Linked DNA regions of Homo sapiens: regions 1, 2, 3, 4, 5 and 6 are each linked to region 7. The links are contacts of gene promoters, found by promoter capture Hi-C in blood cells and fetal thymus (Javierre and others, 2016). All regions are on one chromosome and are shown on one strand. Each heading gives the region's core, a stretch centred on a gene start or on the middle of the fragment in contact. The rest is flanking DNA. Distances are from core to core; before and after follow the strand shown.

The links. Contacts are between HindIII fragments. The CHiCAGO score rates a contact against its expected background, and 5 or more counts as called.
Region 1: a fragment that was not itself captured here is called in contact with the fragment with the promoter of NSUN3 in region 7 in 1 of 17 cell types (non-activated CD4 T cells); the score reaches 5.5 in non-activated CD4 T cells.
Region 2: a fragment that was not itself captured here is called in contact with the fragment with the promoter of NSUN3 in region 7 in 2 of 17 cell types (activated CD4 T cells and total CD4 T cells); the score reaches 12.8 in activated CD4 T cells.
Region 3: a fragment that was not itself captured here is called in contact with the fragment with the promoter of NSUN3 in region 7 in 1 of 17 cell types (total CD4 T cells); the score reaches 5.0 in total CD4 T cells.
Region 4: a fragment that was not itself captured here is called in contact with the fragment with the promoter of NSUN3 in region 7 in 1 of 17 cell types (total B cells); the score reaches 5.2 in total B cells.
Region 5: a contact is called between a fragment that was not itself captured here and the fragment with the promoter of NSUN3 in region 7, in 2 of 17 cell types (total B cells and non-activated CD4 T cells). The highest score is 9.7, in total B cells.
Region 6: a contact is called between a fragment that was not itself captured here and the fragment with the promoter of NSUN3 in region 7, in 1 of 17 cell types (activated CD4 T cells). The highest score is 6.6, in activated CD4 T cells.

Annotation. Positions count from the first base shown.
Region 1 is chr3:149,054,832-149,057,778 of GRCh38, reverse strand. It overlaps HLTF (helicase like transcription factor), which reads left to right. Exons shown (of 25, transcript NM_003071.4): 14 at 2,379-2,476. Among named protein-coding and RNA genes, the nearest start is that of HLTF-AS1, 30 kb to the left of the region's middle. The HindIII fragment of the contact is 5,930 bases long and covers 1-2,947 here.
Region 2 is chr3:158,645,650-158,648,376 of GRCh38, reverse strand. GFM1 (G elongation factor mitochondrial 1) reads right to left here. Exons shown (of 18, transcript NM_024996.7): 2 at 2,596-2,727; 3 at 2,080-2,212; 4 at 1,430-1,634. Among named protein-coding and RNA genes, the nearest start is that of GFM1, 2.5 kb to the right of the region's middle. The HindIII fragment of the contact is 2,385 bases long and covers 140-2,524 here.
Region 3 is chr3:158,665,802-158,668,782 of GRCh38, reverse strand. It overlaps GFM1 (G elongation factor mitochondrial 1), which reads right to left. Exons shown (of 18, transcript NM_024996.7): 13 at 2,397-2,479. LXN (latexin) reads left to right here. Exons shown (of 6, transcript NM_020169.4): 5 at 1,709-1,771; 6 at 2,039-2,369. The coding sequence ends at 2,137. Among named protein-coding and RNA genes, the nearest start is that of LXN, 5.4 kb to the left of the region's middle. The HindIII fragment of the contact is 1,442 bases long and covers 913-2,354 here.
Region 4 is chr3:180,908,691-180,911,441 of GRCh38, reverse strand. No RefSeq gene overlaps it. Among named protein-coding and RNA genes, the nearest start is that of FXR1, 2.6 kb to the left of the region's middle. The HindIII fragment of the contact is 8,016 bases long and covers 1-2,751 here.
Region 5 is chr3:180,604,662-180,607,630 of GRCh38, reverse strand. TTC14 (tetratricopeptide repeat domain 14) reads right to left here. Exons shown (of 12, transcript NM_133462.4): 6 at 2,624-2,779; 7 at 1,794-1,865; 8 at 1,259-1,378; 9 at 1,028-1,150. Among named protein-coding and RNA genes, the nearest start is that of TTC14, 4.0 kb to the right of the region's middle. RefSeq lists a silencer at 1,885-2,140. The HindIII fragment of the contact is 437 bases long and covers 1,313-1,749 here.
Region 6 is chr3:150,762,806-150,765,708 of GRCh38, reverse strand. SIAH2 (siah E3 ubiquitin protein ligase 2) reads left to right here and starts at 2,540. Exons shown (of 2, transcript NM_005067.7): 1 at 2,540-2,903. The coding sequence starts at 2,860. The region is part of intron 2 of SIAH2-AS1 (SIAH2 and CLRN1 antisense RNA 1); the gene reads right to left. RefSeq lists enhancers at 1,545-1,604, 2,123-2,903 and a silencer at 2,115-2,903. The HindIII fragment of the contact is 518 bases long and covers 1,361-1,878 here.
Region 7 is chr3:94,061,329-94,064,313 of GRCh38, reverse strand. NSUN3 (NOP2/Sun RNA methyltransferase 3) reads right to left here and starts at 1,253. Exons shown (of 6, transcript NM_022072.5): 1 at 1,176-1,253. The coding sequence starts at 1,187. DHFR2 (dihydrofolate reductase 2) reads left to right here and starts at 1,398. Exons shown (of 2, transcript NM_176815.5): 1 at 1,398-1,568; 2 at 2,708-2,985. The coding sequence starts at 2,803. RefSeq lists an enhancer at 1,120-1,359. The HindIII fragment of the contact is 2,538 bases long and covers 1-2,393 here.

The DNA of each region.
Region 1 (2,947 bases), core at 76-2,575, about 55 Mb before region 7:
GTTAAAATGAATACACTAGAGCTACAAATACTAATAAGTGTAAATCCCAAACACAGTTGTTCTTTATCTGCAGTTTCACGTTCTACAGTTTCAGTTCTAAAATATTATATACAATAAGGTATTTTGAGAGACAGAGAATGACCACATTCACATAAGTTTTATTACAGTACAGTCATCCCTCAGTATTTGTCAGGGATTTGGTTCCAGGGCCCCCTGTGTATACCAAAATGTGCGCATACTCAAGTCCCACAGTCTGCCCTGCAGGACGAGTATATATGAAAAGTTGGCCTTCCATATACATGAGTTTTGCAATCAGCAGATACTGTTTTTTTGTTTGTTTGTTTGTTTGTTTTGAGACGGAGTCTCACTCTGTCGCCCAGGCTAGAGTGCAGTGGTGCGATCACGGCGCACTGCAACCTCCACCTCATGGGTTCAAGCAATTCTCCTGTCTCAGCCTCCCAAGTAGCTGAGACTACAGGCGCCTGCCACCATGCCCGGCTAATTTTTTGTATTTTTAATAGAGACGGGTTTCACCATGTTAGCCAAGATGGTCTTGATCTCCTGACCTCATGATCCACCCGCCTCAGTCTTCCAAAGTGCTGGGATTACAGGCATGAGCCACCATGCCTGGCCCATTCTGTATTTTTTTTTTTTTTTTTTTTTTTTTTTTTGAGACGGAGTCTCGCTGTCGCCCAGGCTGGAGTGCAGTGGCGCAATCTCGGCTCACTGCAGGCTCCGCCCCCTGGGGTTCACGCCATTCTCCTGCCTCAGCCTCCCGAGTAGCTGGGACTACAGGCGCCCGCCACCTCCCCCGGCTAATTTTTTGTATTTTTAGTAGAGACGGGGTTTCACCGTGTTAGCCAGGATGGTCTCGAGCTCCTGACCTCGTGATCCGCCCGCCTCGGCCTCCCAAAGTGCTGGGATTACAGGCGTGAGCCACCGCGCCCGGCCCATTCTGTATTTTTAATCCACGTTTGGTTAACAAAAATTTGCATGTAAGTGCATCACATAGTTCAAACATATTGTTTAAGGGTCAACTGTATATTGTTATAATTGTTCTGTTTTATTCTTTGTTGTTACGAATCTCTTACTGCACCTACTTTATAAATTAAACTTTATTGTAGGTATATATAGGGAAAAAACATTATATATAGGGTTTGGTACTATTTATGGTTTTAAGTATCTATTGAGGGTCTTGGAACATACCCCCAGTGGATAAGGAGGGACTACTGTAGATAGCACTGAGAGAAAAAAGCAAGTTGTGAATGATACGTAGATACAGTATGATACTTTGCTCACCTTCCAGTTTAATTTTGAAATTAGTGTGAAAATACAATTTTTTAAAAACTCAGAAATTTGCATTTTAAGTTTACTGGAAGATACTCCATTGGTAAGGGATACCATCTCTAGAATTTATTTCAAGAATTTGTAAAAACACTTTATTATCACTATTTTTAAACATGCTCCACAGAAAAGTATTAAGAATTTTTGTTGTAATATATTAGTTACCTATTACTGTGTAACAAATTATCCTAAAACTTAGCCATTTAAAATCAGACATTTATTATCTCACACACTTTGACAGGGCTGGAAGTCGGAGTGGCTTAGCTGGATGGTTTAATGGCTTATGGTCTCTTACGAGGTTGCAGTCAAACTCTTCTTCAGGGGCCGCCGTCATCTGAACATTGGACTTAGGGAGGATCCATTTCCAAGTTCACTCACATAGTTGTCAGCAGACCTCATTACTTGCTGGCTAACTGTAGTCTTCAGATCCTCACTATGTGCATCCTTCCATAAGTTGCCTGAGTGGCCTCACATCGTGGCAGCTGGCTCCACCAGAGTGAAAGATTGGAGAGAGAGAATGAGTATGAGAGTGAGCTTGCACACCCAATACGGAAACTTCTTTTGTAATCTATCTCAGAAGTGACATACTATCTTCTCTGCTATATTCTGTTGGTCACACAGACCAGTCCTGGTGGAGTATGGGAGGAGATTACACAAGATTGTGAATATCAGGAAGTAGAGATCATTGAGGGCCATCTTGGCTGGCTACCAAATTAAATATAACACAAATTCAGAAAACTGCATAAAACAAATGTTCGTCTTAATGAATGACTATGACTATCAGAAAATATTAGAGACTTCCTCCTTGTGACCTACTCTCTGTCATAGTCCTTTGGTTCTTCTCATAATCACTATGTGGATTTTTAGTTTTTTTAAGTGATGAGGTAAAATTTATTCCCTGTTAAAAGTCCATCTGCTTCATTTTAATTGTTCCTAATTTATCTTTTCATGGAGGCACATTATTGCCATCTCCTTATTGACATATATATTTCAGAAAAACAGCTAAAGGTTCTATCAGTGGTTCATTTTTTTAGGAGCTTGTGCAGTGGAGGGGTCAAAGAAAACTGATGTTGAGGAGAGACCAAGAACAACACTGATCATCTGTCCGCTTTCTGTGTTAAGCAACTGGATTGTAAGTCTTTAAGCCCTTTAAAAATGTAACATAATTTATATTTTATCTACAAGGTAGAAAGTATTCTGTTAAAGAGTCATTCATTGGGGTAAATATACTTGGTCATCAGTTCGTATCTAAGTTCAAATAATCATCAGGTGAATTGGATTATGTTTGCTGAATTGAAGAAATTTTTCTTTGAAGATGTGTAGTAGAGAAGAAGGTAAAGGAACATAATCAATTGCTAACATAAGATTTGGTTTGTATTTCTGCCTTTGCTATTTTTGTCCCCCAAAGTGGGAAAGATGTATAGTTTGACTCCTCTACATTTACAGATTGACTGTTGGAACTGTCTTTTCTAAGAGCTATACCAACAATAACTTATTTTTATAACAATAACAACAGTTAGTGAACTCCTGTTTATTTGGTTTGTCCTTAACCTCTTTTAAGGATTTTTCTCATTTAATTCTCATAACTGTTACCCTGATTTTC
Region 2 (2,727 bases), core at 83-2,582, about 65 Mb before region 7:
AACTGCATTCACTGGCAAGAATCCTCACTGGAAAAGAATATGCTCTAGCTACCACTGTTTAGTCTAGACTCTAGACTCCCATCTATAACTATGGTTAAAGATCTAAGAATCACCAAATATTTGAAGGAAACCAAAAGCTTGAAAGAGAAATGTGAACTTAATAGCACTTACCTCCAAGAAGAGAGTTACTAGAGGAAAGAAAATAAAATGTAAAGATTTGAGAAACAATTACCTCTACTGATAAAAATGTTGCAAGGAAAGAGAAAGTTTATGAAAATTAAGTACACAATTGCTGAAAAAAAAAGTTTTCAGGCAAGCTAAGTAACTGAAGAGACACAAATGAATATCAAATTAGTGAGCTGGAAGATCAACCCCAAGATTTCTCTCATAAGCCCAATCCAAAATGAGAAGGAGACAGAAAGAATAAGTACCATAGAAAAGACAAGGCATGAAGGTCAGATCTAGAAGTTCCAGATTTTTATCTGCTTTATAGAAGTTACAAAATGGAAAACAAATAAATGGGAGTGGAGAAAAGAATGAACCAAAGTAATCAAATAAATGCTAAAACAGTGTTTCCTTGGAATTCAGAAGAAGATTTGGGGAAAAAAGACCATCTATTGCCAAGCATAAGTAAAATAAGGATAAAAACTAAAAACAATTTACCAAAAAAAAGTTATAAACACCCAACTAAGAAAATGTTCACTTTCATATCAAATATATCACTTCCATCAGATTTTTTGTCATCAGATACACCATTCTCAGCCTGTCCACTACCATAAACTTTACACCTACATATCCATCAACTATGCCATGTGAAACGTAAGTATGAGCTCTACAGCTACACGTGCACATCTACAAAAGGTGAAAAGTGAAATTCTGACTCTTTTTAAAGGCTTTGTGAAATATATAATATTGTGTAAAATTTAAAATGCTATAAATACTACTGGTTCTATCTGGTACAGAAAGGAAGTGTTACTGTTGTCCTAGAAAATATGTTTCCGTCTGAAAACAAGAAAATCTCATCTCTATGGCAAACTACTTAAGGGCATTAATTAAAATGCTTCAAGGAAAAATTAAAACCAAAGATGATCTTTTGTCTAAATAAAACACAAGGTATTTTTAGAATCTAGATTATAACTTCTCTCATAATAGCAAAACAGTATAAACGGTCAGACTGTTTTCTGAATTCATCTTCAACCTCCCTAGAATTTAAGTAATATTGTCCCCATTTTAGAGATAAGGTAGTTGATGAGATCATACCACAAGCCAATTTACTAAAATCAGTGTTCCACTTACTAACTCACATAAATATATTTAAAAAACTAAATTTAAGAATAAAGTTTAATGACAGTGAATTAATCACCCTTTTGGATATAAGGTTTGCTGTCTAGATCATCACATCCTCTTTGTTTATTCTAAGGCTCATTACCTCATTTGCTGCAGGGCCCTGGCTGGGTTGGAGCCCATTCGGTCCAATTTGTTAATAAAAGTTAGAAACGGAACGTTGTAGCGCTTCATCTGACGATTGACAGTCATGGTCTGGCACTGTACCCCTCCAACAGCACAGAGAACAAGGACTGCACCATCCAACACTCTCAGGGCCCTTTCCACTTCTATTGTGAAGTCCACATGCCCTGAATAAGATGAAGTATGAGAGGGTCTTAAAGAGCAATCTGAATTTTTAATATATGCACTATTAGAAGTTTTTGTATCTCTGCTCATCACATAAGTCTTCTAATAAGAATGTAGATTCCTGAGCTCACCAATACTATTCACCAACCCTTAGGTGCAGGGCCTGGCAAGATCACTTCAAGAAAATACTAGGGCACAGGCACCTTTAGAATCAGCTAGAATATGTAAAAGGCAAGAATCTGCCTACTCACAATTTACTTGCACAAATTTTCAAGAAAACTACATAAGGATGAAGTGCTCTAGGTCCTAAGTTAGTCTTCTTTAATAGGAATTCAGTGTTACACTTTTGAGTATTTGACAATCAAAAACTAATTGGGTCACAGTAAGAGAAAGAACCAAATGTGCTTTTGCCAAAGAAGCTGCAATAAAACCAAGAATCCAACTCACCAGGAGTATCTATAATGTTAATATTGACATCTTTCCACATGGTGTAAGTGGCTGCTGACTGAATAGTGATTCCTCTTTGTCTCTCTAGTTCCATGGAATCCATGACAGCACCAACTCCATCTTTACCTTTCACCTAAACACAAGCACAGCAATTCAGACTTTCTCTGTCCCTGCATTCCAAGAAGGAAAGAAATCTTAACTGAAATGGAAACAGTTGCCAGGTGCAGTGGCTCATGCCTATAATCCCAGCACTGTGGGAGACTGAGGCAGGATGATAATTTGAGCCCAAGAGTTTGAGACCAGCCTGAGCAACAAAGTGAGACCTCTTCTATAAAAAATAAAAATAAAACCAGAACACAGATACTTAACTTAAGCAACTTTCAGATAAGCCTAACTGTCAAAAGTCCGCTGTTACCATTGTTTTAATCTTTCAGGTTTATAAGCTTTATTAAATAATAGCAACAAAACAATTAAAATCTGGTTCTAATTAATCCGGAATCAACCGTGAATATATACCTCATGCATCTTTGCAATTCTGCCAGTGTAGTAAAGGACTCGTTCTGTTAATGTAGTTTTCCCAGAATCAATGTGAGCTGAGATTCCAATATTTCGTATTTTTTCATTAGGAATCACCCCTGATGAAGACCA
Region 3 (2,981 bases), core at 384-2,883, about 65 Mb before region 7:
GATTTGGCTGAGAGATGCAAACCACAGGCCTCCTTTGCCTCAAACTTGCCTAATAACTGTGCTTTGTTAGTTGCATGCTCTGGGAACATAGAGACTAGGAAGCATAACAAAAGCAAGGCAAAGCCAAGGATTTCAGTGAAACACTTCCTGTTAATACACAGTATCTAGACTGCACTTTCAAAAAGCATCACGGTAATCATAGCTCTTAATCTTTCGGGTTAGTCAAGTCAGATTTAACTATGATACTTTCCTCAAACCCTCTTCTAGAACAAAAAGGTTGAGAGAGTTTTATTAGTAGCAGCAAGACAGAATCCCAGGTGTACAATATACAGTCAGGCCTCTCCATGGGTTCTGCATCTATGGATACAAACAACCGAGAATCAAAAATATTTGGGGGAAAAAAATGGATGGTAGCATCTGTACTGAACATGCACAGATTTTTTTCTCGTCATGATTCCCTAAGTAATATAACAACTATTTATATAACATTTAGATTGTATTTGGTATTATAAGTAATCTAGAGATGATTTAAAGTATATGAGAAGGTATGCATAGGTTATACGCAAATACTACACTGTTTTATGTCAGAGACTTGGGCATCCGTGCATTTTGGTATCTGAGGGGAATCTTGGAACCAATCCTCCATGGATACTAAGGGACAATTGTAATGACTCTCCTCACCTTTAATCTGCTCTATAGAGATCCTCAGGGCCACTTTTTATGGCAGTCACAAGCAAAGCTGTGCTTTCAGAAGAGTGAAGTCTTGAGTTATAATCCAACATTTAGCTTTTGTGCTCAGCTTAATACAGATTATTTCCCTTAGCAATCTAAGTTTTGTGTTCAAATTACTATAGTCATGCCATACTGAAACTATCTGTTTTTTCCCTCTACTGTACAGTACAGAAAAAAGCTTTAATTACACAATCACACAACTACACTCACTACATTTTACTATTCTCAGGTGTTCTGGTTTTTTTGTTTGTTTGCCTGTTTTTGAGACAGGGTTTCACTCTGTTGCCCAGGCTGGAGTGCATTAGTGTGATCATGGCTCGCTGCAGCCTCAATCTCCCAGGCTCAGGCGGTCCTCCCACCTCAGCCTCCCAGGTGGCTGGGAGTACAGGCACACACAGGCATGCCTGGCTAATTTTTTGTTTATTCTCATAGAGACATGGTTTCACTGTGTTGCCCAGACTGGTCTTGAACTCCTAGGCTCAGGCAAGTTGCCTACCTCAGCCCCGCAAAGTGCTCGGATTATAGGTGTGAGCCACTGTGCTCGGCCTTATTTTCAGTTTTCAAAAAGAGAATTTCTGTTATAAAATTGGATTCTTTCAATGTAAACACCCATTGCTATAGCTTATCCCATAAATTATGCTTTTCTGTACAATGGAAACACAGAGCATTCTTAAATAACAAGCTACACTTGCTAATTCTCTTAAGTAGCCACCACAACTTGGAAACTAAAAACAGGTAAACATTTCTTGGGGAACAAATATAAGATCATGATTTTAAAATGCATCTTGAAAGAACACTTTATTTAGTGTAAGAGAATAGATTTTGTCACATTAAATTGAAATTATGACATTCAATTTTTATTTTTACCTAAATGGAAATATTATATTCATCTAATCAAAGATGATTTTCAAAATTAAATGTAATTTTTGCCAAAGATATTAAGTTTTAAACAACACGTTTTTATTTTTTGTCATAGCAAAGAAATGATGACTTTATTGAATTAGACTACACCATTCTACTTCATAATATAGCATCTCAGGTAAAGTATAATTTACCTTTATTTGATGCCATTCTGAAAACTGAGACTCCTTGTATAGCCACAGTATGCTTTATTAATTTTGACTCTAAATCAGAATTCATGTAAATCCAGATAGGCACCAGATTTAAGTATATTATAATTGCAGCAATTTAACAAAAGTACTATTCTTTGTGAAGACTGTTTTATCTCTAACAAAACATAAACCCAACTACGTTTTCCTAAATGTTTTCTGAATTTTATCATGGCATTAATTTTCTTCACTTGCAGGAGATTATTCCCTGGCAAATGCAAGTTCTCTGGCATCCACAATACGGCACTAAAGTAAAACATAATAGCCGTCTGCCAAAGGAAGTACAACTGGAATAAACAAAAACCCTAACACTGGAAGTGTAAACATGTCTATTGATGTGTATGCCAATTTCACTGGCATCTAGCTTATGAGGCCAAATAATCCCAAAGTGTCACTTTATATAAATGTCTTGATTACAGTATAGAACTTTATAGAGTCCATAATACAAAGTATCACTACATAAAAATGTCTTTAAAACAGTAATAGTGGTATGTATATCCAAAATAAAAAGCTTCAATTTCAGCCTCATAATGTTTAATTACGTTGCATACTTACGGGACAGGGGCAGTAATGGTCTCTCGAAAGGCAACTTTTGGCTTTCCTGTGATACAAGGACAGCCATACTCTCTTTCCAGCCTCTAAAAAGAGTGGGGAAAATATTATTTAAATTTAAAAAAATAAACCGAAAGAAAACCTCCTAAGCATCTTATATATCTTAGTAGCATTCACTTAAATATAATAGATAAACAAATCTTAAATCATTTTAGTATCTTATAAGGATTAGGTATGTGATACTTAATACAAACTGCTTTTACAGATTTTATATAAATGAATTCTAAGTTACATTGATTAATTTATATTTACCTCCAATTAATCTAACCACTAAAACGTCACCATTGTTGAATATTATTACATATTCACTGGAATAATATATAAATCTGTTGTCAGGATTTTCTATCTCAACTTCAAAGATAAGATCTCACCAAAATTTCTAATCACATATCTTTGGTTTTTACTTATATATCAATACATACAAGACCTTTCCTGGGAAGGTATAGGCCCCATCTTCCCTTCCTTTTATCTATATTATAATGATCTTCAAGTAATGACTTGAGAAGAAATGGCCTGAAAAGTTGGTAC
Region 4 (2,751 bases), core at 140-2,639, about 87 Mb before region 7:
GATGCTGCCACCTCAGCCTCCCGAGTAGCTAGGACTACAATATTTATTTTATTTTATTTTATTTTATTTATTATTATTTTTTTAGACAATCTCGCTCTATCGCCCAGGCTGGAGTGCAGTGATGAGATCTCAGCTCACTGCAACCTCCGCCTGCTGGTTCAAGTGATTCTCCTGCCTCAGCCTCCGGAGTAGTTGGGATTACAGGCGCGCACCACCACACCCAGATAATCTTTTTGTGTTTTTAGTAGAGATGGGGTTTCACCATGTTGGCCAGGCTGGTCTGGAACTCCTGACCTCATGATCTGCCTGCCTCGGGATTGCAGGCATGAGCCACCGTGCCCAGCCTATGTATTCACTCCCGGCCTATTTTTTTTTTTTTTTTTAAGACAGGATCTCTATCGCCAAGGCTGAAGTGCAGTGGCACAATCATAGCTCACTGTAACCTTGAACTCTTGGCCATCCCACACTGGGCTGGGATGTTCTTTTTAAAGTGTTGATCATCATGAGAAAAATGTAAACAACTAAATGCCCATCAATGAGTAATAGCCACCATTTATTAAGGGCACCTTATGCTAACACTCTATATTGTATCTCATTGTGATCCTTCAGAATTATAATGTCCCATTTGCTTTCTTAAAAAGTTTTCTTTAGATATAATTCTCCCATTTATAATGTACAATTCAGTAGTTTTTAGTATATTCACAGATTTGTGCAACCATCACCACAGTCAATTTTAGAACATTTTCATCACTGCAAAAATAACCCCATACCTGTTAGCGTTCACTCTAGATTTAACCCCAGCTCCCCAGGCCCTAGGAAATCACTATCCTGTTTTCTACCTATATAGATTGGCCTAGTCTAGATATTTAATATAAATGAAATCGCGGAATATGTGTTGTTTTATGACTGGCTTTCTTTTTTCTTTTTCCTTTTTTTTTTTTTTTGAGACAGAGTCTCACTCTGTTGCCCAGGCTGGAGTGCAGTGGCTTGATCTCCACTCACCACAACCTCCACCTCCTGGACTAAAGTGATTCTCCCGCCTCAACCCCCTGCCCCACAAGTAGCTGGGAGTACAGACACCACCCACCACGCCCGCCTAGCCTAATCTTTGTATTTTTTGTAGAGATGGGGTTTCACCATGTTGCCCAGGCTGGTCTCGAACTCCTAAGCTCAAGTTATCCACTGCCTCCGCCTCAGCCTCCCAGAGTGCTAGGATTACAAATGTAAGCCACTGCACCTGGCCTATGATTGGCTTCTTTCATTTAGTATAATGTATTATAGTTTCATCCATGTTGTAGAATGTATTACTACTCATTCCTTTTTGTCAAATATACTGTTGTATGGATATACCACATCATTTTATTTATTAATTCATCAATTGATAGAAGTTTGCTTTGTTTCTACTTTTTGGCTGTTAGGAATAATGCTGCTATGAAAATTGCTGTATATGTTTTGGTATAGACAGATGTATGTTTTTGTTTCTCTTGGGTATATAGCTAGAAATGGAATTGCTGACTCGTGATAACTCCATGTTTAAACCTTTTGAGGAATTGCCAGACTTTTCCAAAGTGGCTGCATTATTTGCATTCCCACCAACAGTGTATGAGGGTCCCAGTGTGCTTTTCTTTATGGGTTCCCCTCTCCTTTCCTGTCCTCCCCTCCCCTCCCTTCTCTTCCTTTTCTCTTCTCTCTTCTCTCCTCTCTCTCTCTCTGTTTTGGCTTTCAGTGTATTTTTTGTTTGTTCTCAATGTGAGTGATTTTGAGTATGGATGCGAAAGTTCCACTTGGGCACAGGCCAAAGCATCTCATACTGCCTGAACTCTAAAGAATAAGTATTGTCCCTCTTCAGGCCTTGCATAGCGAAAACATTTGAATTTGGAACCCAGCCAACACTTTACTACTTCTTCTAGGTAGACTTCGTGATTTCAATTAAGCAACTGAGCCCTATAGCAACCAGTAACACATGTAAGATCAGACAAGCTGTAAGTGTCAGAACTACGATTTGAGCCCTCTTACTTTCCATTTCCAGTGCCACATCAATGACTGTTTGCAGCCTCCATATAATATTCAAAATGGGACATTACACAAACTTTAAAATTTTGATGTAGATCTATTTTCATCATCATAAAAAGATGTTCACTTTAAAGAATGTCACAAAACACCATACATAATCATATTAAAATATATATGCAGTGTGTATATACATATATAAAGTCTGAAAGTTAATATTTCCATATATTATTAGAGGATATTTCCAGAAGATGGGCTAATGATTTACGTAAACTATATAATGTCTATATTTTTTGCCTCATCTGAATTTTTCACAATGAGCATGTTACCTGATCAAAAAAAAAAAAGTTCTTTTTGGCTGGGCACAGTGGCTCATACCTTTAATTCCAGCACTTTGGAAGGTCAAGGCAGGGGGATCACTTGAGGCCAGGAGTTTAAAGCCAGGCTGGGCAACATAATGAGAGCTCGTCTCTACAAAAGCGACAAAAGTTAGCAGGGCGTGGTGGTGTGCACCTGTAGTCCAGGCTACTCAGGAGGCTGAGGCAGGAGGATTGCTTGAGCCTGGAGGTCGAGGCTGCAGTGAGCTGTGTTTGCACCACTGCATTCCAGCCAGGGCAACAGAGCAATACACTGTCTCAAAAAAAAAAAGATATTTTCATTTTTAAATACTATACCATGGAATCTTCTACAGCCACTAGCAATGAAATTATAGAAGACTATCTACTGATATGAGAAGATGTC
Region 5 (2,969 bases), core at 282-2,781, about 87 Mb before region 7:
ATTTAGCTTTTTTGTAAAAACAACAAAACTATCCAAATATGCATACAGGTCAAAGGCTTATATGAGAGAGCTTATTAGGGAAAAGCCAAGTAAATTATTTTCCAAAATAAAATACCAAAATAATATGCTTTTTACTGTAATTTATTTCATAGACCACATAAACAGAAATCTTACTAGTAACTAAAGGTATATGTCCAATATTGGCACATTTTTGCAGTAATACACAAAAACCCATGATAAATGGGTGTCCACAAATTTAGTATGATCTTGAATTTTAGCACAGAATTATACCAGCAGGCTTTTTTCCCTAGTAGTTTATGAAAAATTATCTACAGAAAATTTTGGAAATCTTTGGAAATACCAACATACACATATATCACAATGAGCCTGTAAATAGCATAATCATTAGATGAATTTCACAAGTCTGGGTTGTGAAACACCAGAATGAGAAAGTTTGGACATAAAGCAGTCAAAAGATGTTGCAAAGTGCTTTGGGTTCTTAGAAGGAAAAAGAAATTACTATAAAACAAATACAATGGGATCACTTTTGTGTCAGTAGACTGGATATGGGAAACAAAGGACAAGTCAAAGATGAACAGTATCTCTGGCTTAGGTAACTACAGGGTATTGCTATTCACTCAGCTCAAAGACATCAATACAAGGCTATAAGACAACCACATATAAGTAGTTACTAGTTATCCACCTAGTAAGTATGTAAAAAGCTGCTCCAATCATTAAATAGAAGTTCCTATAAATTATAAACGAATATTGCAAAATTTAATCAACTTGGAATTTGTGATCACAAACAGGAATGACTACACAAATAGTATAGTCATTAAACCAAAAACTTTTGAGTATATTATCTAGGAAAAGAGTATTTGCCTAATCTCTTGTACTTTCCCATTTATTTATTGAAACCAAGAGTGTTATAAATTAAGTGCTTAAGAAACTATTTCCTTAAGTTCAAAATTTTTTAGTGGTTGGTTGAACATTAGACCTCCACTATTAAACAAAATCTGATACTTACTGTCCTCCTCTCTCTACAAGTGTCTGGCAGAGGTATTTTCTTGCATTTCTGTGAGTTGGACAGTTTTCTAATGCAAGCTCAAAATCTTCTATTGCTTTGTTCAAACTTCCTTTTGTCGCATATCTAGAGACATGAAACAAAGATAGAGGGCTGTATCTCACAAGCTCTTCATAAATCTTGTTCGCATTTACCTGGTAAACATTCCTTAAAATCCATGTATGATTCACTTACAATGCTCCACGAGCTACCAAAGCTTCCACGTTTTGTTTGTCTATTTCCAAAGCTTTATTGTATTCATTCATAGCATCCACATGGCGTCCAACTTTAAAATAGTCAACTCCGATCTTCACACTAAAAAAGACATTTGTAAAGCATCACAAACACTTCAAACAATATCTAAATAAAATGTTAGTGTGAATAAGTTTTAAAAGCAAATGTCATCAAACTTGGCAAAATATTTAGTTTTCAGAGTACTCACAATATACCTAAGGAACGTTCTTCTGCCTTTGGACATTTTCACAACAAATATTGGTGAAACCTAGATATCAATATACTAATTCCTTTTGAGAAAACTGAAATGCTGAGTAAAACTTATCTGTTAAGTGTAAAATGTAAGACTACTTACATCTATAAAAGAAAAGCTCATGTCAAAAAGGCATCACTTTAATGCATCTCAAATTTGTCTTATTGATGATATAAGCATGCTTGCCTTGCCCTAAGCTTTTAGACTAGATATAATGCAATTGTTGAAAGACAGTCTTCATACCATTTTAAAGCCCAAGATGCGGATTGTTTTTTTCTCAATGCAGAAGCAAAATCATCTTCAGAGAAATTTTTGCTATTAAAGAAAATAAAAATTAAAAAGTTAAACCACAAATATTTTTTAAGTAACTATACTTAACTCTGCTTGACAGGCACTCGACAGTGAAAGTATGAATCCCAAGCAAGAAATCTGCATTCTATTTACATACCAAAATCTTTGAACTTTCGAAATGATTATTATTGTTAAACAGTATTTTTCTTGGCCAGGTGCGGTGGCTCACGCCTGTAATCCCAACACTTTGGGAGGTCGAGGCGGGTGGATCACGAGGTCAGGAGATTGAGACCATCCTGGCTAACACGGTGAAACCCCAACTCTACTAAAAATCAAAGAAAAAAAAATTAGCCAGGCGTGGTGGCGGGCACCTGTAGTCCCAGCTACTTGGGAGGCTGAGGCAGGAGAATGGCGTGAACCCAGGGGCAGAGCTTGCAGTGAGCTGAGATAGCGCCACTGCACTCCAGCCTGGGTGACACAGTGAGACTCCGACTCAAAAAACAAAAACAAAAAACAAAAAAACCCAGTATTTTTCTTTAGCATACACACAAAATTCTTATAAAAAGTTTCTGCATCCTTCTCTACTTGGTTACATGGTACACATATTAATCACTGATAAGACAGTCCAGTCCAGAAGATGGGATCACCTGGTTCATTCAACCTTTGGCATATGCCTGCTACTAGGTGGCTTAGGATGGTAAAATACGTCCTTCAGCTAAACGCAGCTTCTGAGCTTACTGCCACTCCCCTCACCATCTAAGAGTAATACTGATGTACTATACCTTTGTAGGCCTCTCATTAAAGATGGTGGATTAGATTCATCTATTCCTAGTTTTTCTAGAAGGAATTCAACTACTCCTGGATTAACAAATCCCAAGGAACTCTGCATGACATTTTCATAGGACTCCAAAGAATTGCTATTTAGCTCAACACTTCTCCTTAAAAAAATACAAACACAAAAATTGTAAAATGACTAATTTGACATTCCATTTCTAGTAAAGAAATAATATCATTTGAGGTTTAAATACTAATTCCATTTTTTGCATAAGATGGTGTGGCAATATTATGATATGGTTTCCTTTTACCAAGTCTGAAGTAATTTAACCGTTATAAAAATGTGGTATTCCT
Region 6 (2,903 bases), core at 370-2,869, about 57 Mb before region 7:
CACCTCCCAAACCAAATTGTTTTCTGAATGACCAGGGCCTATCTAGCTGGAACACTTAAAGCTCGTGTCAATGGGGCAAGGGTGAGGACTCCAGTCTCCTAATGAGAGCTAGTAAGAAGCCGTGGGGATGGAGGTCATCACACAGAGAGGCTAGAAGTGGAAGGAAAGAAAATGTGTTCCATTAATAAATTCCAAATGCTTTGATTTTAAATTAAGAATGAAAAATATTACATTTCCTCCAATAACAGTAAAACAGTAGGTGATTTTTGTGTTATCACTTATATTTTGTGTCATAAAAAGGTGAAAATGAAATAAATAGAACATGATTTAATTTTTCTCTCTAGACCAGCTAAGGAAAGAGTTTATGTAAAGTTTGCCCACAAAATTTAGTGCTTTATTATAGGCTGAACAACTGTTTTCTGACTCTGTTGAGTGTGCTAATCTTAACTGTTTAACAAGACTGTAAGTAGGAATCAGGCATAATTTAGAGGCATACAGACTAGTAGTTAAGAAGGGCTCCTAGCGTGTTCCCACATTCTCAGCTGTGTGATCTTGAGCAAAGTAACCTATGTCTCGGTTTCCTCAACTGTAAAATGGAGATAACAGTAGTATTCATCACAGAGAGTTATGATAAATACTTAAAACTATCCATGCCCAACATACAGTGGGCACTCAATTAACATTAGTTATTATTTTATGCTCCCTACCTATCCAAAAACTCAGGTTCAGCCATGTTACTAAAGAGCTTCCAAAAACCTACAAAACCTAGTGTTGTTGTGTGTTCTTAAAAAAACAAACAAAACCCTACAGTGGTTTACCCCTATCATTGAGGTAAATGTCTTATTAAGCCAGTTGAGGCTCCCCTTGTGCTAACGCCACACCCCTACACTCCCGTTATATCCCCTCCAAGTCCCAATGCAATCCCAGAATACATGCTTTCACTCTGTGCTTTTTAGCTCCTGCTATAATGCCTGCCCACCCCGTGGTATCTGAAATCCTTCTTCTCCCACGAGTGCTTGGTTATTGGGCCTTGCTCTCTTACTAGAATGTAAACTGCATGAGAACCATTCTCAGAGCTCCAACAGTAGCTGACACATGATAAATGCTCAGGAAACATTTACTGAACGATTGAATACACCTATTAAGTTTTTTCAAGATTTATACCAAATTCCATCAATTCCATGCATGTATTCTTTCTACAGAAGCCCTTTGTAAGATTAAACTTTATTTCTTCTGGGCTCTTACGCCATATTTCTTGGACAAATTGTATTCATTCATTTTAAACATCCACTAATATTTTTAAAAGATAAGAGCTAATGTTTAAACAGTGCTTATGATGGGCGAGGTTGTTTTAAAAGCTTGAAATATATTAAACTCATTTACTCCTCACTGCCCCACCTATAAGATAGGTATTTTTTTTTCCACTTTTACAGTTGGAGGGAACCATTTTTCACTCAGTCCTAACAGTTGGTCCTTACCTCTGTGTCTCCTATAAATTTCCGATTTCTACCTAAGGTAACCCTTTCCCCAATTCCGGAATCGTTGGCTCAAGCAAAGTCTGCAGAAAAACAATTTTAACTCGGAGCACACAGTTACATTTGGACATGCGGTTCACCCCGGGCAACCGTGCCCTCTAGCGCTTCTGCTGGGCGCGCAGGGTGGCCCTACGCCTCGCAACAAAGACTCGGACTTCGGCCGGCTCTCTACCAAGCGGACGCAGCGCCTTACACTGGAGTTTCACCCACTGTCTTCAGAGACCTCACGACCCAACCTACGTTTCTGACATTTCTAGATGATCTCGAACTCTTAGCCAACGCTGCCCATGAGCTCCCTCCTCGGCCTGCTATACGAGCCAGGGGCGCTCAATTCAACGAAGCTTCCTCCTGGTCCGCTGGGAAAGGAATAAAGGGAGCTTACATCCTCCCCACCGCCCCCCTCTTTACTCAACCCCACCGTTAACTGTACAAAACTAGGTCCTGTGCCCGCTGCAGACCCAACTCGAGCCCCTCGCCCTGCTCCCACCCAATGCTTCTCGTCCTGACTCCGAACACAGAACGCGGGTGGCCGCTTCGCCCTCTTCTCCTGCGTGCTGGTGACTCAGCCCTGAGAAGAGAAACCTCTCGGTTTTTTCCGACTAGTGCAGGGGCGCCCGCGCCCCGCCCCTGCCCGCCCGCGTCCGGTCCCACCCACCGTCCACGCTCCCGCCCCGCCTGAAGTTGCCTTTCTCGTTTGAGCTGAGGGACGCGTCAGCCAGGCACCCCGGGGTGTGGCCAGAGGACTTCGGCGACGCTTCCCCGAGAGTAGCCCCCCTCCTCAACCCAGAAAAGACAACCCCGCGGGGCTGCAGCGAGCCAGGCATGCTCACTGGCGCAGGCCCGGCCCGCAGCCCGAGCAGGAAGCGCCGGCGCTAGGCGGCCCCCTGCGCTGCCAGCTGGAGCCGGGCGGAGCCAGCGCCCCGGCGCAGGGTGGCTCTGCCAGTCCCCGCGCGCCTGGGCGGCCGCACACGTGTCCAGGCGTCACGTCCGCGCGCGCCCCCGGGGCTTGCGTCAGCGGCTGTTCCAGAAGCGGGTGGGCCAGGGCTCTGCGCACCGCTGGGGTTCGGGGCCCGGGACGCCGCCGGGAGGAGGGCACCGCGCGGGGTCCGACGCGGAGGCGTGCTCGGAACGCCGGGGGCTGCGGAGTGCATCAGCGCGGTCCAGCCCTCCGCCTGCCGGGCGCCGAGCGTCTCCGCCGCCCGGACCTGGGCTGGGCGCCGTGGCGTTGCCTCGGAGCTCGCTGCCCGCGGGGCGCGCACCGCCTTGACCCGGGCGGCCCCGCGGCAGGCAGGCGCCCGCAGTTCCATGGTTGGTTCGGAGCGCGATGAGCCGCCCGTCCTCCACCGGCCCCAGCGCTAATAAACCCTG
Region 7 (2,985 bases), core at 4-2,503:
GGAAGCAATACCTTACATGTACCAAAACTGTACATTATCTAATTATGAAAAAGCAAGGTTTTTCCAAATAATTATTTTCCAAATGTGAAGCAAAGGTTAAAACAGAATCTACTGGGGCTGAAGAAACTGTCAAAAGGAACAAAATTAATTTTAAAAAGTCACTGTAGGGGCTAGGCAGGTGGCTCACACCTGTAATCCCAGCACTGTGGGAGGCAGAGGCGGGAGGATCACATGAGGTCTGGAGTTCAAGACCAGGTTGGCCAACACGGGAAACCCGTCTCTACTAAAAATACAAAAATTAGCCGAGAGTAGTGGTGGGCGCCTGTAACCCCACCTACTCAGGGGGCTGAGGTGGGAGAATCGCTTGAACTCAGGAGGTGGAGGTTGCAGTGAGCCGAGATCGCGCCACTGTACTCCAGCTGGCTCATGCTTTGCAGGGACGAGGCGAGAGGATCATTTCCCAGTTCAAGACCAGACTGGAAAACATATCAAGGACGTGTCTCTACAAAAAGTAAAAAAAAAAAAAAAATTAGCCAGGCGTAGTGGCCTGCTCCTGTAGTCCTAGCTACTAGGGAGGCTGAGGCTGGAGGATCGCTTGAACCCAGGAGTTCAAGGTTACAGTGAGCTATGATGGAGCAGCTGCATTCCAGATTGGGTGACAGAGCAAGAACTTGTATCTAAACAAAACTAAAAAGTCACCGGGGATGCTGACATCAAGAAAAATTGGTGAAAGGTATTTGAGAACTCTGTACTATCTTTGCAACGTTATTTTAAAGTGAAAAGTTAATTTAGGGAGAAAAGTCACTCCAATTTCATCGTGAACTTCCTTGCAATTGTTTCATTTATTCATCCAAGAAACGTGTATTCAATGCCTACTATGTAACAGACACTGTTCTAAGCTCCCGGGATACCGCTGTGACACAGAAAACAAATCTCAGCCCTCCAAGAGCTGGAGGGAGTGGGTACTAGAAGTCTGCGAGCTGGACGGAAGGGACTCAGCATTACAGCACTCAGCATTATTTCAGGGCTTGACAGTAAAGCCAAAGAAACGCTGATCTCGCGAGGGGACGAACAAAGGTGATGTTCCCCCATCCCAGCACCCTCCCTCGCCACCTCGGCCGCGTCCAGAAGCGTCTCATTCAGATAGAGGTACCCAGCCGGGCCCCAGGTCTCACCTGGGTCAGCATTGTCCCGCTGAGAGCTTTCAAACAACAGGTGTACGCGAATCAGTATCAAAAAGCCTCCAGGGAACTGAAAAAAACAGTCTGACTTCCGGGATTCGCGGGCATCCACTTTCATTCTCACGTTTCCTCTTCAATTTCTCGCGAGATACTGATTTGCTCGCGCTATAGAATTCTTGTCGAAGAGGCTTAGCTCCCGCGGGAGATTTCGTGCGCAGTTACTTCCGGTAGCTGGTAAAGGCTGATACTTCCCAGGACGCGGAGGTAACGGGCCAGGGCCAAAGCGACTTTCGCTACTTGGATTGGTCGGCGTAGCTTTGGGCGGCCGGACCTTAGAAAGTCACACATCTGCGCGCCTGTGCGGCCCCTGCTTCTGCGGATGCTGAGGTGGGAGGATCGCTTGGGCAGAAGTTTGAGGTTGCAGTGACCCGTGATCGCGCCACTGCACTGCAGCGTGGGCGACAGAGCGAGGCTTTGTCTCAAAAATAAATAAAAAGTCGCATATTGTGCTGAACAGTGTGTATATGCATGGGGCTCAATAAAGGAATGAGTTTTGGGGTTATGTTGTATGATGACTGATTTAAAATATTCTCAAAGCGAAGCTAGTTACTGACTTAATCTACCAAATCTAGTGACCCCTGTTAACCTAGACATTCAGTACCCAAGGATAAAAGGGTGGAATATAATGAAAAAGAAATTAAGTCATGCTTTTCCCCAGACCTGGCCCATGGGGATAATCTCTCCTTTTAATGGAGAGTGTTAAACTGAAGTAGGCATGTAAAGCGGTTACAACAGTGATTAGGAAACAGTAAATGCCCAAATGTTAGCTGCTATTATTTTCACTATTGTGATCATTGTGATTTTTGTCGCGTTGATACCAAATGCGTGAAGACCAAAAGGACCCTCCACTCTAGCCTCCCCAATTCACCTTTACAAGGGAGCAATGTTTAATGGTTCTCCAAGGAAGATGTTTATTACACCTATTTTGACACGAATAGAAGTTTATTTGCTCTTTTGGTGTCATGCTTCAGTAACTATCATTTGTAGCAGCAATCAGCAATTAGAAAAAACCGGTTTGATATGGTCCCTGATAGTTAATAATCATCATTTTGAGTTGTTCCTTGATGCTCATATCAATATACGTACATGCTATAGGTACAAGTCTTATATTCATGTAAAAACATGTCTTTCCTTCTAATCTGATTTGAAGCTTAATATATTTATTTATTTAAACAAGTTTCCAAGTCACCTAAAAAATGCATCTTATTAGAATTTAGATTTGGTACAAAAGACTATGATAATCAGGAATGAAATGATGCCATCTCTTGGATGCCGTCTGTTTAATGTTTGTGGAAAAGTCGGTCTAACCTTTCAGCCTCTGTATTTTTTATAATTTTATAAATTTATATTTTATAAATATTTTATAAATTTATACTTTATAAATATATTTTATATAATTTATTTTTCTATGTTCATTCCAGAATGTTGCAATTAATTAATACAGTGGTATTGTATTTGCAATGTAGGCACGTAAAAAAATTTGAAGAAGGGAATTTCGCGGCATTCTTGGCCTGGCTTCCTGGCGTAGCCAGCAAGTTCGGAGGTGTTAACCGCTGCTGTCATGTTTCTTTTGCTAAACTGCATCGTCGCTGTGTCCCAAAACATGGGCATCGGCAAGAACGGGGACCTGCCCAGGCCGCCGCTCAGGAATGAATTCAGGTATTTCCAGAGAATGACCACAACTTCTTCAGTAGAGGGTAAACAGAATCTGGTGATTATGGGTAGGAAGACCTGGTTCTCCATT